4 separate regions of the Homo sapiens genome follow, and regions 2, 3 and 4 are each linked to region 1. The links are contacts of gene promoters, found by promoter capture Hi-C in blood cells and fetal thymus (Javierre and others, 2016). All regions are on one chromosome and are shown on one strand. The core of a region is centred on a gene start or on the middle of the fragment in contact, and the rest is flanking DNA. Distances in the headings are between cores, read along the strand shown.

Region 1 (4,144 bases), core at 505-3,004:
ACACCTGTAATCCCAGCACTTTGGGAGGCCGAGGCGGGCGGATCAACTGAGGTTGGGAGTTCAAGACTAGCCTGACCAACATGGAGAAACCCCATCTCTACTAAAAATACAAAATTAGCCAGGGTGGTGGCCCATGCCTGTAATCCCAGCTACTCGAGAGGCTGAGGCAGGAGAATCGCTTGAACCCGGGAGGCAGAAGTTGCAGTGAGGCGAGATCACGCCATTGCACTCGAGCCTGGGCAACACAGCAAGACTCCGTCTCAAGAAAAAAAAAAGAGAGAGAGAGAGAGACTCAGGTTAAATGCTGGACCAGGCCCTCAAAGGTAGTCCACCTGAGCCCAAAACACCCTCTCTACAGCGGCTAACTAGCCCCGCTACTCTATTCTGTGACATCTAACAGTTTAAACTTTCTCCTACTTAGCCCTTTGGACTACACAAGGACCATGTCAGCGAAATCATCCTGGGTATTTCCTGACACAGGAATCAGCCTTTTATCTCCCCCACCTACAACAGGATTGAAATTGTCCTCTTGCCTGAGGGAAGGCTGCCCATCCCTCTCCAGGCTCTGTGCACCCACTTCCTCCTCCTCCTCCTCTTCGGGTGACTATGGGTGGAGTGAGCGCTTGGGAACCCTAGAGCTTGGGTTCTTCCTTCTCTCCTTCTCTCCTTAGGCCGGGAGCAGGGGCTCACGCCTGTAATCTCAGGACTTTGGAAGGCCAAGGCGGGTGGATCACTTGAGGTCAGGAGTTCGAGACTAGCCTGGGCAACATGGCGAAACCCTGTCTCTACTAATAATACAAAAAAATTAGCCGGGCGTGTTGGCAGCCGCCTGTAATCCCAGCTACTCGGGACGCTGAGGCACGAGAATCACTTGAACCCGGGAGGCAGAGACTGCAATGAGCCAAGATCGTGCCACTTGCACTCCAGCCTGGGCGACAGAGTGAGACTCTCTCTCAAAAGAAAAGAAAGGAAAAAAAAAGCTTGGTGTCCCCCCTGCCCGCCCCAAACCTTCTCATCTACCAGCACATGCCTCCTTGTCTATCTTCCGGGTGTCTGGACACTGAGGCCACAGAAGGACTGAACCAAGCTGGTCGGCCTTGTCCTTTCTCAAGGCTGGGGGCCAGAGGCAGGGTGGGCAGGGACGGGTTAGAGGAAGGAGTAACTCGAGGTTTTGCAGGAGCTGGGTCTGCAACCACAACATCCAGCCCCGCAGGGAAGTTGATCCAGGGGCGCCCCCCACCCCGTCCCCTGGAGCTGCAGTTGGACGCTGGGTCTGGGCCTGGAGCTCCGGAGCAGCCCCGCCAGCCCACAGGATACGTTTTTGCGTAATGCAGGGTGGAAGGCGGAAACAAGTACACAAGCCCCTGGTTCATTACATGGACACACGTTAGGCATCTACTGTGTCACCTGCTCCGTGCGGGGCTTTGTGGGAAACGCAATTGGCCTTGGTGCCTGCCCATAGAATGCGACCTGGGGAAAGGAATTCGTCGCCTTCCCCAGCAGTCTTTATCAAAAGGGTCGGTCTTTCAACGAAAACAGCAAGTGAGCTCTAAGTGTCCTGCCAGCCGCGGGACATAAGGCCGATCGAAAACCTCTGCTGAGGCAAGGAACCCGCGTCGAGGTCCCTTGCAGCATCCGAATACACTTCTCTTCCCAGCCACGCTCAAAATGGCCGTCGGTCCGTTCTTGGGCTCCGCGCAGGCGCACTTCAGCCTGCGATTCCCAACATGGCTCCGCCCAGGCGTCCCGGGGCGGGACCAAGAGCGGAAGTGGGTGTGACGGGGACGGGGGCCCGGTGGGCCCGCGGAGGAAAGATACTGGGGAGTGGGAGCCGCGGGGTTCAGAGCGATGATTCCCCCACAGGAGGCATCCGCTCGACGGCGGGAGATTGAGGACAAGCTGAAGCAGGTGGGCGTGGGCCTGGGGAGGCTGGGGAGGAGGTGAGGGAAAGGGGCCAACAGCGGGGCCTGATTGTCTACTCATGGAGGAGGCAGGGGTGGGAGGGAGCGCACCCAGCGAGGAGATGGGGTTGGGGGCTAGGCCGTGGGGTTGGGACGCAGTGGTCTCCTTTAGCTTCTGGTTTCTGGTGATGTCCTCCCCTTGCCTGCCCCCAGGAGGAGGAGACTCTGTCCTTCATCCGAGACAGCCTGGAGAAGAGCGACCAGCTCACTAAGAACATGGTGAGTCTCCCCGCAGCTGGGGGAGAGGGCAGGCCTCCGGACCCTGGGGGAGAGCCTTGCGACCTGGCGGTTCCGGTTCCTGCGGCCTGGAGTTCTGGAATGGGCAGCGACGGAGGCAGTGTGTGGGTTTATCTAGCAACAGTTTGGCATCTCTCCTGCCTAGCCCCCTCCCCATGTTCCGTACCCTCACTGAGGAGGCTGCACTTCCCACTGGCCTGGACTTGCTGCTTTCTGTCTAAGCTCGCCATTCTTCCTTCTCTCCTTCTGCAAACACTCAGTGAGTCTGACCAGTTGGGCTAGGTACTGGGCATATGTCATTGTCAGTGGACTCTCTGCCCAGGAGGTTGGCACTTTGAGATTCCTGAGGGCAGAGAAGACTCAGCCTTCACTCCAGAGGACTTTAGGGAAAGAAAGAGCTCTAAAGTCAGGCAGATCTGGGATCTAGTCCTTGCCCTTCTGCTTAAATGTGCGGCTCCTGATAGGTAACTGGTGTCAGCGAATTCATCTGCTAAAACAGAGACTGTGCCAGCCTCCCAGTGTGTCTGTGAAGGTCATATGCGCTAATGCATGCGACTGCATCTTGCACAGTGCCTGGTATACAATAGGTGCTCAATAAGTGAGTTTCCTTCTTTATTCCTAGGGGAGACTGGAAAAGCACAAAGTGAGTAAATACAAACTTGTATTTGCATTTAGTCACACAATAATAAAGTCCTAGTCCTTTTCTAAAAATTTTAATTTTTAAATTTTTTTTTTTAGAGGCAGAGTCTGGCTGTGTTGTGCAGGCTAGAGTGCAGTGGCATGACTGTAGCTCACTGCAGTCTCTAACTCCTGGGCTCAGGCAGTCCTCCTGCCTCGGCCTCCTAGCAGCTGGGACTGTAGGCACACACCACCACGCCTTGCTAATTGTGTGTGTGTGTGTGTGTGTGTGTGTGTGTGTGTGTGTCTGTGTGTGTAGACAGGGTCTCACTGTGTTGTCCAGGCTTGTCTTGAACTCCTAGTCTCAAGCTAACCTCCCGCCTCAGCCTCCCAAATTCTGGGTATTACAGGCATGAACCATCACGCCCAGCCTCTAGTCCTTATTCAATGAGTTTCATCCTTAGAGAGGGTTTTGAAGATACAGCAATGCATTTGAGGCTACTCTGTATGAAACTACTTCCAGTCCGGTTTAGGAATGCTTCAGAGAGAACAGAAGTTGAGATTTGGCTTCAAAGGGTGGAAGGGAAGCCATCTTGGGCTGATTATTTTAAGAAGAATTAATTTGATGCTTGGTTTGCCTTCAAATAAAATTTCAACCAATTTGTCTTAGACCACCTACTATATGCCAGGCACATGATAGGTGCTGAAGATACAGTGGGGAACAGGTACACCCTGTTCCTTCGCTTGTGGAGTTTATTGTCTAGAAAACCAGAGAAAAGGCAGGAAATGCCGAAGGTGGGTGTGTAGAAGCAGTGCTGGGACCACTGTGAGTCCCAAGATCAAGAGGCTTCCCTCCCGCAGGTGTCTATCTTATCATCCTTTGAGAGCCGCCTTATGAAGCTGGAGAACTCCATCATCCCTGTGCACAAGCAGACGGAGAATCTGCAGCGGCTGCAGGAGAATGTTGAGAAGACGCTGTCCTGCCTGGACCATGTCATCAGCTACTACCATGTGGCCAGTGACACTGAGAAGATCATCAGAGAGGGGTGAGTGAGTGAGGCCCAGAGGGTCAATTCCTAATGCCTCCTGGGCCAACAGGAGGGTTGGTCTGTAATCCCAACAATTTGGGAGGCTGAGGTGGGAGGATCGCTTGAGACTAGGAGTTCAAGACCAGTCTGGACAACACAGTGAGACGCCTTTTAAGCCCTAGGCCTTAAAAGGCAGTGGGGGGATAGAATATATTTGAGCCTGGAGTCCCCTGTATTAATTTTCTTTTTCCCAAATACTGTGTCCTTAGTCCTTCTTCATCCCCCATGCCCCAGCCTGAC
Region 2 (4,144 bases), core at 1,034-3,533, 360 kb before region 1:
GCTGTAGTAGCAGATGTTCCCCGGGCAGCCTGTGGTGCTGTTAGAGGTTTGTAATCCCCCCACCCCACCTCTCGAGCTATCCCAGGCAGGATGACGCCAGCAGGGCTCTGGCAGCCTCGGCCCCTGCCTTGCTGAAGGGAAACGTCAGCTCTGGTGCCCTGGGCACAGAAGGGATTACCAGAGGCTGACTGAGGCCCCAGGGTTTGGGGAAGAGAGCGTGGGGCTAAGCCTCAGGGGTCCATCTCTAATCCCTGCTCTGTCACCGACTGGCTGGGCACCAGCGATTCTCCCTCTGTCCCTCGGAGTCTTGGACAAGCCCACCTCTTATGTGGGGGGAGGGGGTGGGAATTCAAGCTACCAATTTGTGCACTTTAAGTACGTTCTACTTCAAGTTTATTTAAATATTTAATTTAATTAAATATTTAAATATTCAGGAGGTTGCCCTACCAAACATCTCAACTACAAAGCTCTCTGCTATTGACCTTGGCTCCACCCATTCCCAGGGCTGCCCAGGCCTTGGCACTTGGTGCTGGCATTCCCTCGGGATGCAGGCCCCTCTCCCTGTTGGCTCTGACTACCCCCTGCCCTCCAGCTCACACCCCATCCTGCACCCCTTAGCTCTTCTCTCGCCAGCACCTGCCTCTCCGCCCCACCCAGCAGTGCAGATCCTGTGTCCATCTCGGGCTCCTGGGGGTCCTGGAGGTTGGATTTCACAGGTGCACTCTTTTGACCCCCTGCAGAGGAAGCTTCTGCTCCTACCCACACAGCTTGGGACGGACCTCTGAGGGTCCTTCCTGTCCTGGCAGCCTGTGAGTGCCACTGCTTACAGCACTTGCTATGTGCCGGGCCCTGGATACGCGTCTCCTTTAATCCACACGGAAGCCCGGCCAAATGAGTATTAACCACGTTATAGAGAAGGAAACCGAGGCACAGACAGGTTCAGTAACCTGCTCAGAGCCATCCAACAAGTGAAGGGGGAGGGGCAAAGCCGGGTCAGCCTCCTGACATGCACTGCCACGGCTGCACTGGTGGGACCCACTCATCTCACAATGAGACTCCTGTTTCCTGTCTTCATGATTCTCCTGCTGGTTTTCAGTGTCCTCACAGGTGCACTCTTTCGACCCCCCCGCAGAGGAAGCTCCTGTTCCTACCCATACGGTTTGGGACACAGCCCCTGACCGTGGAGTGACCCCGTCCCGATGCCCCCGCCCACCCACCACATGCATTCCTCCTGTCTCTGGGTCCCCTTCTCCCAGGGCCCCTCTGCACTCTGAGGCCCACCTGCCTGCTAGAAGGGACCCTCAACAGACCTCTCAGGACCGACCAGAGACCTCCTTGGGCTTGGTTGGTGGGGTGGTCATGTCCAAGACCTCAGCTGGGCATCCCCACCTTCAACCTCCAGGGTCCCCCAAAAGGCCTCTTCTGTCCCTTCATAGACTGTGGCTCCATGGCACCCCCTGGTGGCCAATCCTAATCAGTCACTTGGCGATGCCTGAGAAGAGCCTGCTGTTCAATCGGCCTCTCTCTTTGCTGACTTCCACATGGCCCTGTTCTTTCCGGACAACACCCTAGAGGTCTAGAACCTCAGGGAACAAGATGAGGCAGTAAGCCAGGCACAGTGGCTCACCGCTGTAATCCCAGCACTTTGGGAGACAGAGACGGGAGGATGGCTTGAGCCGGAGAGGTCGAGGCTGTAGTGACTCGCCACTGCACTCCAGCCTGGGCGACAGAGCGAGACCCTGTCTCAAAAAAATACAAATAAAAATAAATTTTTTTTAAAGATGAGGCGGTATGTTAAACATGGTGAAACTGGGAAGTTCAAACCCTTGTGGGACAGGAGAGGAGACAGGGGAGGGCAGGGTGATCGCTGGGACCTTTGTCCTGGTCAACAGGAAGAAAACCACATACCACCACCAATGAGAAGGAAAATAAGGAGGGTGAGGGGCCCAACAGGGTGATGGGTACAGAGAGAAGGAGATCCCTGGGGCTGGGCATAGTGGCTCACACCTGTAATCCCAGCACTTTGGGAGGCCAAGGCAGGAGGATCACTTGAGCCCAGGAGTTTGAGACCAGCCTGGGCAACATAGCAAGACCCCTGTCTCTACAAAAAATTTAAAAATCAGCCAAGCATGGTGGCACACACCTGTAGCCCCAGCTACTTGGGAGGCTGAGGTGGGAAGATCACTTGAGCCTAGGTGGTTCAGGCTGCAGTGATGAGCCACTGCACTCCAGCCTGGGTAACTGAGCAAGATGTTGTCTCAAAAAAAAAAAAAAAAATCCTGACCTCAGGTGGGCTCTAAAAAAGAAGCACCTCCGAGATCATCCTCACGCCAGGGACACCGATTGCACTGTTTATCAGATGCCCAGTCTTGTCCTGCTATTGCAGTTAAGAGTGCTGGCAACGCCTCTGGTGACTGCCTCTCAGGTGGATCTTGGGGATGGGGGGGAGAATGTGTCCTTTGCCCCCCAAGTCGTACCTGTTCAGTCACTCTAGACAGCTGATAAACACCTAACCTGATGGGCAAGGCCGGGCACGGTGGCTCATGCCTGTAATCCCAGCACTTTGGGAGGCTGAGGCGGGTGGATCACCTGAGGTCAAGAGTTCGAGACCAGCCTGGCCAATATGGTGAAACTCCGTCTCTACTAAAAATACAAAAAATCAGCCAGGTGTGGTGGTGGGCGCTTGTAATCCCAGCCACTTGGGAGGCTGAGGCAGGAGAATTGCTTGAACCCAGGAAGCAGAGGTTGCAGTGAGCCAAGATCGTGCCATTGTACTCCAGCCTGGGCAAAAAGAGTGAAACTGCTATCTCAAAAAAAAAAAATATATAGATACAGACAGGGAGAAGCTGGCATCTGTATGTTTCCCAGGGGTGCTGTAACAGATGATACACAAACTGGATGACTGTAAACCACAGAAATGGCTTGACGTCGTGGCTCATGCCTGTAATCCCAGCACTTTGGGAGGCCGAGGCTCTTTGTTCCCAGCCTCTCCCTCCAGCAGCAGCTCCCTTGAAAGTCCTGTATCCACAACTCACCCACCGCGACTCCCTGCCCAGTGTGTACCATGCCACCCTGCCTCACCCATGATGGCTCCCCTCAGGGGTCCCCCTGTCTCTCCACCCAGCCTGGCCTCTTTCGATCTCCCAGACAGATTTACACATTTCAAATGCCAGATGGGGTTCAGTTTTCTCCCAAAAGGCTCTTCGGTCCCATGAAAATCATGGTCTGTGACTGGGCTTCCACTTCAAGACTCCAGAATATTCTTTTTTTTTTTTTTTTTAAGACAGAGTCTTGCTCTGTGGCCCAGGCTGGAGTGCAATGGCACAATCTCGGCTCACTGCAACCTCCGCCTCCCAGGTTCAAGCAATTCTCCTGCCTTAGCCTCCCAAGTAGCTGGGATTACGGGCGCACACCACCATGCCTGGCTAATTTTTTTTATTTTTCCTAGAGATGGGCTTTCGCCATATTGGTCAGGCTGGTCTCAAACTCCTGAACTCAGGTGATCCACCTGCCTCAGCCTCCTAAAGTGTTGGGATTACAGGCGTGAGCCACCGCACCCAGGCAGGACTCCAGAATATTCTATAGCAGTTTGGAGAGGGGTTGTCCAGGGCACACAGAGAACTGCCAGGGACCATGCTACCTAACTCCCCACCTGCCCTGGTAGAGCCTCACCTCTGACCCATCAGAGCCCCCATCCCACTCCTAATCAGATGTGGTGAGGATGATGACGACAGTTATTGAGCGGATAACTGATATCATGACAGTAAAAAAGGTTCTGAGAGGATGTGTATCACCACACGAAAGCTGAGAACCAAGCTTTTGGGATGTCCACTGTTAGCAGGGAAAGGAGTTATTAACAGGAACACAGGTGAAGCCACAAGAAGGGAAGAACCCAGGGGAGAATGTCCAAGAAATGGGGCAGATAGAGCCTGAAATGCCACAAAGAATGGAGAACAGATCTCAGATTCTGCCAACAGGGAGGCTCCGATGACCTTTAAGAATCCTTCCAGAAAAGGCCGGGCACGGTGGCTCACACCTGTAATCCCAGCACTTTAGGAGGCTGAGGTGGGTGGATAGCTCGAGGTCAGGAGTTCAATAGCAGTCTGGCTAACATGGTGAAACCCCGTCTCTACTAAAAATACAA
Region 3 (4,144 bases), core at 862-3,361, 340 kb before region 1:
GCTCCAACTTGACCTCCTGTCCGCTCTGCTGCTGTCATCCTTCGGCTGGGAATGCTGAGTCATGAGACAGGTTCAGGAAGGATTCCTTGGAGAGGCTGAGTTCCACCTCAATTTCAGTTTCTGTTCCCTTCAGTTTCCGTGTGTTTTTGCTTTAGGACATTAGAGGCCTCTTTGCACCTTCCCCATCTCTACTTCACTTTTATCCCTGTTTCTCTCTGTTTTGTTTGTTTGGTTTTTTTTTTTGTTTGTTTTTGTTTTTTCATTTTCCTGTTATACTAAGAGGAACTTTTTCTATTTTTTACTACTTAACCCACCATGGGGGCTCATGGAATCCAGTGGAACCTGTTGGGGGCCAGCACTTTTTAAAAGGGTGCAATTGTCGTGTATAACATGAATTGCCAGCACAACAGTCCTGGGCACGTGATCAGTGTCAGCTGCCGCTGGTGGTCGGTCCCCTCAGAGTTGGAGTCAGGGTGGTTTTCTGTGACATGTGGGTTTTCACCCAGGAGGATATGATCTGTGCTCCTATTCTGATGGAAGCTTTTGGAATTTCCTTGCCCAAGGCTTAGCCTGCTTCTGGATGGCGATGGGGAGTTGCTGATTTAAAATGACAATCAAAAGGGGCAAGTTACAATCAGGAACGTCTATAATGTGCTTTCCAGTTTACAAGAGGCTATCACTTTTCTCACTTAATAGGATCTCGGTATTTTTAACTGTAGCTCCTTCCTGAGGCTCCACTTGCCCATGAATGGGTGCCAGTCCTGGAGAAGGTCATGGTCTAAATGCTGCCCATCCACATTTGCAGCTCTTACTGAGCAAGAGTGCCCGTTCGGAATTGCTTCATCTTCTGACATTCCAGCCAGCCACGGGGGGACTCTGTCAGGAGCCACTTGATGTGTGCAGTTATAGCCAGGGAAGAGCAAAATGCTTATTGGAATTTGCTGTAGTTGAGAATAAAATTGAATTGTGTTACTGGATAACTCTCTGGATTTATCTACTCCAAGTTATTTGCCTTTGTTTCATTCGTTAGCTATACTCTGTGATTGAGGATTTAATGTCCTTCAATCCAGGCTGACTGTATTGGATGGATCCTTGGGTCAGCTTTGTCCAGGTCACCCCTAGACACAGGTAGGCTGTGTTCTCCTGAAGCAGTATTGTGAAAAGCACATTTTTATGGTTTAAACATTGCAGTCAGTTGACATACCACTCAGAAGTATTCAGTGGGCAATAAGGATTGGAATGAATGTCCTTTTTGGGTTTAATCTGGTTCTTTGGTTGGGGGATTTTGAGTTGGTTTGCATTTTTAGAGAGGCCACAGCAATATTTAATATTCTGCAGCTAAGTCAAAGGAGTAAGACATTTTTCAGGTCACTTTTGGTTTAAATTGATAGCATAACTATACCTGGGAAACAGTCTGACTATGATAATTGAAAGTAAAAAAAAAAATTAAAACACTGAGTCATGCTTGGAAAAAGAAAAAAAAAAAGGCAGTCAGTCCTACCCAACAATGACATGAATATTCCCAGCTAGCACTGACAGAGAGATTTCCTGCAGGCACCCTTAAAAAGAGAGGCCTTCATTTGCATCCTGCAAGAGAGCTGGTCTTTTCACACTCAGCAGCTCCGATGATGTTCTTCCTCCTCCTTTTAATTCTGGTCCTTTTTGTGGGAGCTCCCTCTGGAAGAGGGCAGTTGAAGATAGATACCTTGACCGGCAGATTCAGCGGACTGTGTGTGTGGTCACCGGACTGTGTGTGTGGTCACCGCTAGTGCAGGTGGGAAGTGTAGACACACAAATACGTCTCCAGGGATTCTGGGAGCCTCAGGGCTTGACATATGCAGTGCTGAAAGCATCCCGGTATTCATGTGCTCTGACTGTTTTATTATTTAAGGGATTCTGAGGGCCCTGAAGGTTGATGACATCATCTTCAAGCCAAGGAAGAAAGCATTTCTCTGGTCCCCCAGTGTGCTTTTGGGTCATCCCAGCACTGTACTGGGGGAAATGGATGTCTGCCTCCATTTCCTCATGACCTGCTCTCGCCTTCAGTCATTTTCTGTCTAACCTCTCACACCACTGAGTGTGACGGCTCCCCTGAAGGTCACAAATGACTAGTGAATTTCTGATCACTGCATTTGCTGACATTTTCTCAGTCCTTGTCCTCATTTTGATCCATCAGCCTTATGCTCTGTCACCCAGGCTGGAATGCAGTGGCGTGATCACACCTTACTGCAGCCTCCGCCTCCTGGGCTCAAGCAGTGCTCCCACCTCAGCCTCCTGTGCAGCTGGAACTACACACTCGGCTTTTTAAAATATTTTTGTAGAAACAGGGTCTCACCATGGTATTGGCCAGGCTGGTCTCGAACTCCTGACCCCAAGTGATCCTCCCACTTCAGCTTCCCAAAGTGTTGGGATTACAGACGTGAGCCACGGTGCCTAGCTGACCACACCCTCTTTGTTTTGTTTTGTTTTGTTTTGCTTTGTTTGTGAGATGGAGTCTCAGTCTGTCGCCCAGGCTGGAGTGCAGTGGTGCAACCTTGGCTCACTGCAACCTCTGCCTTCTGGGTTCTAGCGATTCTCCTGCCTCAGCCTCCCAAGTAGCTGGGATTACAGGCTCCCGCCACCACGTCCGAGTAATATTTGTCTTTTTAGCAGAGACGGGGTTTCACCATATTGGTCAGGCTGGTCTCGAACTCTTGACCTCAGGTGATCCATCCGCCTCAGCTTCCCAAAGTGCTGGGATTACAGGCATGAGCTACCGCGCCTGGCCGACCATGCCCTCTTAACGGTATTTCCTTCCTTGGGGTTCTATTATACCAGACTATACCAAATGTTTCTCTTTTTTGCCTTTTGTCTTCTTCCTCTTACCCATAGATGTGCAGCTTTTCCAAAGACCTCTCTTTTCTTTATCTCTTCCTCCCCAGTTTTTTGGAGTGACCTCCCTGCTTGTAGCTGCATCTGGTACCTGTATTTAGGTGACTTCCACAGTGACATCACATGCCCAGCTGCTTACTTGATAGCTCCATTGTGCCATGTAGACTTTGTGGGTATAAAATCTTGTGATTGTGACTGCCCTTCCCATCCCCAAGTCTGTGGACTTAAAAAAAAAAAAAATGTTCTGACTGGGCACAGTGGCTCACGCCTGTAATCCCAGCATTTTGGGAGGCCGAGGTGGGTGGATCACTTGAGGTCAGGAGTTCGAGACCAGCCTGGCCAACATGGTGAAACCCCATCTCTACTAAAAATGCAAAAATTAGCCATGCGTGGTGGTGGGTGCCTGTGATCCCAGCTACTCGGGAGGCTAGGGCAGGAGAATTGCTTGAACCCAGGAGGCAGAGGTTGCAGTGAGCCGAGATCGTGCCCCGGCACTCCAGCCTGGGCGACAGAGTGAGACTCTTTCTCGAGGAAAAAAATATATATATATATTCCCCAACTTTTTTTGTTTTTGGTTCTGAACCCAAGACCCAACTTTTTAATAGGAAAAAATATTGACCATACCAAAATGTTGAAAGCCAGTAATTGCTAACCCCCAACCATTATGAGTCAGCAGTTGTTAACATCCTGCCATATTTGCCTTATCTGTATGCTTATGTAAATATATTTCCTCCTGAATTATGTCTGGTACTAACTCCTGCTAAGTTAGTGGCAGACATGATAGCACTTCACCCCTAAATACCTAAGCTTGAATCTTCTCAAAATTAGAGCATTTGGGGTCATTTTTAATTTACCTTCTTTGGCCCTCATTCTAACTTGTCATCAGTTCTTTGAGAGGCCTCTTGCATCCTGTGCCTGCATTTCCCTTTCACAACCCTGGTTTGCTCTCTGCTTGCCTCATGCCTGCACTGTGTAGCCTTCTCCCTGGTCTCCCTGCCTCTAGTCCTCCTTCAACCAGTGAACAGCGCTGCCGCCAACTGACCTCCAAAGGGCTGACCTCCCAAGTGATCGCCTGGATTGTGTCAGGACCCAGCCTCTGATCATGCCTTGGTTGTCATTCAGGGCCCCTCACCTACACATCCTGCTCTATCTCCTGCCTCTTCAGTTGATTCCAGCCAATCTGACTGCTTTTCCCCAACTCAATTGTGCCGTTCCCTTCCTCTCATGCCCCATGGCACACCCACATTCTCTCCTGGATGGGAAGCTCCTTGAG
Region 4 (4,144 bases), core at 756-3,255, 290 kb before region 1:
CCCTGATGCTGCCACCAGGTGGCTCTAGGAGACAAGACCTGAAAGTCCTCTGGGCTCAGTGTCCTCAGAAGGGCAGCTGCCCCAGAGTCAAGCTGCCGCTCAGCACTAGCAGCTGCAGAAGGACTTGTTTCCCTGCCTCCCTTCTGGGGTCAGGCTTCTTGAGCTGCCGCTGGTTACATTTACCAGAGGAGCTAAGTTCCTTGTCACAAGCCAGGTGGGCATGATGTCAGTCACTGCAGAGCACAGGAGGGGCTGGGGAGCTGGAGCTTGAGCTGGGCCCCCTGACTTTGTCCCCTTTGCCCAGCAGCCATCGGTGGGCCAGGTGGCCCGTGTGGACGTCAGCAGCAAGGTGGAGGTGGTGTGGGCTGACAACTCAAAGACCATCATCCTGCCCCAGGTGAGGCTCTGGCAAGACCCCCCTGCTGAGCTTGTGACTATGGCAACTTGGGCCGGGGGCCACAGGCGTGTAGCCAGAAGATGGGCTCTCAGGTCTTCCTGGTGAGATCTCAGCGAAAGCGTGAGGGGAAAGGCAGGCATTCCACACAGCCCTTGGTGCAGGCCTGCAGTTGGCCCACCAGCCTCGCTTCTCCCAGCAATCTCTTCACGTCCATCTCTGGGTGCATGTAGACTTTCACAAACCTCCAGGATTTTCCTGGATTGTCAGCTCACTATGCTACGAAGAATGCAAGTTCCCTCCTAAAAGGAGATGGAGACTTTCCTACCACCCTTTTTAGAAAGCTCTAACAGAGAAGGAGAGAAAGGAGAGAGCCGACCCAGTTCTAGCCCCACCTGCTGGGTCCTGAGCAGAAGGGCTACACGGGCTCTCCTTCCCTCGCCTCCTGGTTGGAGCCACACAGCCCAGCTCTCCTCTCCTGGTCCACACAGGGGGCAGGAGTGGGGGCGGGAATGGCTTGCCCCATCACCTTAACGGCCATTCCAGGGAACGCAGCAGGATATGTCGGCCCTTCTACATGTCCCCTCTTGTCATATGTTCCCAGCTCCCCACACAGGCCTCCTTGGCTGCATCATTAGCTGACCCTGCGCTTTTCAGGTGTGGGACTGGGCCTGCCAAGGTCCCCTAACGCCTTGGACAGATGCTGACGAAGTGCACAGAGCAGGAGGAGAGGCTGGAACAGACCACTGGCTGGGGCTTTGGGTCCAGCTGGAGGGTGGGACAGGTGAAGGGCCTCTCCCAGAGACCTAGGGACTGCAAAAGCCAGAGCAGAGGTCAGGGAAAGGGTGGAATGAGGTTGCCAAGGCCTCATGAGCCCAGTCGCCATCAGCTGTGCGGATCAGGGATCCCCAGAGCTCCTCCTTAGTGGTGGGGAGGTGACTTCCTGTCTGCTTACCCTGGCACTTCCCTTCTGCCCCCAGCACTTGTACAACATAGAGTCTGAGATTGAGGAGTCAGACTACGATTCGGTAGAAGGCAGCACCAGCGGGGCATCCTCGGATGAATGGGAAGATGATAGTGACAGCTGGGAGACGGACAATGGGCTGGTGGAGGACGAGCACCCCAAGATAGAGGAGCCCCCCATCCCACCCCTGGAGCAGCCGGTGGCCCCTGAGGACAAGGGAGTGGTGATCAGTGAAGAGGCAGCCACAGCTGCCGTCCAGGGGGCTGTGGCCATGGCTGCCCCCATGGCCGGGCTGATGGAGAAGGCTGGCAAGGACGGGCCACCCAAGAGCTTCCGGGAGTTGAAAGAGGCCATCAAGATCCTGGAGAGCCTCAAGAACATGACTGTGGAGCAGCTGCTGACGGGCTCGCCCACCTCTCCGACTGTGGAGCCTGAGAAGCCAACTCGGGAGAAGAAGTTTCTGGATGACATCAAGAAGCTACAGGAAAACCTCAAGAAGACCCTGGACAATGTGGCCATTGTAGAGGAGGAGAAGATGGAAGCAGTGCCCGACGTAGAGCGCAAGGAGGACAAGCCCGAGGGGCAGTCACCTGTGAAGGCTGAGTGGCCCAGCGAAACCCCGGTGCTGTGCCAGCAGTGTGGCGGCAAGCCTGGCGTCACCTTCACCAGCGCCAAGGGCGAGGTCTTCTCCGTACTGGAGTTTGCACCCTGTGAGTCAGCCCTTGCCTGGTCTTCGCCTTCCCCCGCCTTCTCGGGGCTCCTGTTTGTGTCACCAGATCTGGGTGCAGGGTGGTTAGTCCCCTCGCCAGACCCCAGCTACTGCCCCAGGGCAAACCATTTCCCTGTGTGGTCACAGTGCTGAGGCCAGCAGCGGCGAGTGGGAAGTCTGTGGGTGTGCTCACCTGTCCAGCCAGGTTGGCAGATGGAGCTCCAGGGCCTCTCCATGAGGGACTGACTATTCTCTTCCCCCCTCTAGCAAATCATTCTTTTAAGAAAATTGAGTTCCAGCCTCCAGAAGCCAAGAAGTTCTTCAGCACAGTGCGGAAGGAGATGGCGCTGCTGGCTACCTCACTGCCTGAGGGCATCATGGTCAAGACTTTTGAAGATAGAATGGCAAGTAGGCTTGGCATGGGCAGGTGCAGATGTGCTGTGTGGGCACCCAGTGCCCAAGAGGCCACCAACCTTGGGTCCCCAAACCTCCGGGGCTGACTGGCACCTGCGAGGACACTCACCCACCCACCTTTTACAGGGGCGGTCACAGGCTCAGTCAGGTGAGGGCTGACTCAGCCGTGTGTCCAGGCCAGATGGTTCTTTCTTTCCTCCCTCCTTTAAAAAATTACTTTCTCGGCCGGGCGCAGTGGCTCACACCCGTAATCCCAGCACTTTGGGAGGCCGAGGTGGGTGGATCACGAGGTCAGGAGATCGAGACCATCCTGGCTAACACAGTGAAACCCCGTCTCCACTAAAAAAAAAAAAAAAATTACAAAAAACTCTCCCGCCACCATGCGGGCGCCTGTAGTCCCAGCTACTCTGGAGGCTGAGGCAGGAGAATGGCGTGAACCTGGGAGGTGGAGCTTGCAGTGAGCCGAGATCACGCCACTGCACTCCAGCCTGGGTGACAGAGCGAGATTCTGTCTCAAAAAAAAAAATTACTTTGAAATAGGCCGGGTGCGGTGGCTCACGACTGTAATCCCAGCACTTCGGGAAGCCGAGGCAGGTGGATCACCTGAGGTCAGAAGTTTGAGACCAGCCTGACCAACCCGGTGAAACCCTGTCTCTACTAAAAATACAAAAATTAGCCGGATGTGGTGGCGGGTGCCAGTAATCCCAGCTACTCGGGAGACTGAGGCAGGAGAATCACTTGAACCTGGGAGGCAGAGGTTGTAGTGAGCCAAGATCGCACCATTGCACTCCAGCCTGGGCAACAGAGCGAGACTTCATCTCAAAAAAAAAAAAATTACTTTGAAATTAATTATATTATGATTACTCCTCAAGCCTACTTTTCTTTTTGAAAAATTAGAACATTACAGATCCTTTGAGTGGAAATGGAAGAGCTAAAGTTGCCTTTGACCAGACCTCACTTCCCTTTCTCCCCGAATCATAGGCCTCTTCCCACACCCAGAGGATTGTTGGAAGTTTAGTGGGTCTCCTTCCAAACGGATGACCTTTTTTTTATACTTTTACATTATTTATACACTAAAAAAATATTTTTACATTTTCATGTATCACCATAAGTACATAATATTTTGTATGATTTGTTTACACACAGAATATGTCGTCGTACACATCATCTCTAATTTGCTTAAGACCAACCTGTGTTGATTCATAATGATCTAGTTTCTTCCTTTTTACCTGCAAAATAGGATGACAGCATGTGGCCACACCACATTCCATTTTCCCACTCCTCTGTTCGTGGACGGGGCCTAGTGTCTCTGAGTCATGTTTACTGAGGCAGCGCTGAGTGCATCCTTCCGGAACAGGCAAGCCCGTTTGCCTGCCACCTTGTTGACTCCGCAGTCCCTTACTGGGCCTGTGCATCGAGCCAAGCACTATGCTAGACTCTGAATCTGAGTCTGAGGCCCCAGTTCTGGCCCTGTCCTGGAAGGAAGGGAGTAAGAAAAGAAAGAGCAGGGATCCTGAGAGCAGCCAAGCGATCCTGAGAGCAGCCAAGCGGGATGCTGTTGAGATGGGCCCGGAGTAGCCACAACCCTGGAACAGGGCTAGGCAGAGTCCTAAGGCCCAGTGCTGCTTGAGATTCTTAATAACGCTTTTGGTTTTTTCTTGGG

Evidence for each region. Contacts are between HindIII fragments. The CHiCAGO score rates a contact against its expected background, and 5 or more counts as called.
Region 2: a fragment that was not itself captured here is called in contact with the fragment with the promoter of EXOC7 in region 1 in 1 of 17 cell types (naive B cells); the score reaches 5.5 in naive B cells.
Region 3: a fragment that was not itself captured here is called in contact with the fragment with the promoter of EXOC7 in region 1 in 4 of 17 cell types (activated CD4 T cells, M1 macrophages, M2 macrophages and 1 more); the score reaches 6.5 in activated CD4 T cells.
Region 4: a contact is called between a fragment that was not itself captured here and the fragment with the promoter of EXOC7 in region 1, in 6 of 17 cell types (activated CD4 T cells, M0 macrophages, M1 macrophages and 3 more). The highest score is 6.4, in activated CD4 T cells.

Annotation. Positions count from the first base shown.
Region 1 is chr17:76,101,397-76,105,540 of GRCh38, reverse strand. EXOC7 (exocyst complex component 7) reads left to right here and starts at 1,754. Exons shown (of 19, transcript NM_001013839.4): 1 at 1,754-1,908; 2 at 2,115-2,180; 3 at 3,678-3,862. The coding sequence starts at 1,849. The HindIII fragment of the contact is 3,319 bases long and covers 983-4,144 here.
Region 2 is chr17:76,463,478-76,467,621 of GRCh38, reverse strand. It overlaps AANAT (aralkylamine N-acetyltransferase), which reads right to left and starts at 19. Exons shown (of 4, transcript NM_001088.3): 1 at 1-19. The HindIII fragment of the contact is 3,070 bases long and covers 749-3,818 here.
Region 3 is chr17:76,442,562-76,446,705 of GRCh38, reverse strand. The region is part of intron 1 of UBE2O (ubiquitin conjugating enzyme E2 O); the gene reads left to right. Among named protein-coding and RNA genes, the nearest start is that of UBE2O, 8.5 kb to the left of the region's middle. RefSeq lists enhancers at 1,760-1,919, 3,594-3,713. The HindIII fragment of the contact is 3,138 bases long and covers 543-3,680 here.
Region 4 is chr17:76,394,052-76,398,195 of GRCh38, reverse strand. It overlaps UBE2O (ubiquitin conjugating enzyme E2 O), which reads left to right. Exons shown (of 18, transcript NM_022066.4): 13 at 308-397; 14 at 1,375-2,068; 15 at 2,335-2,471. Among named protein-coding and RNA genes, the nearest start is that of SPHK1, 12 kb to the right of the region's middle. The HindIII fragment of the contact is 6,073 bases long and covers 1-4,144 here.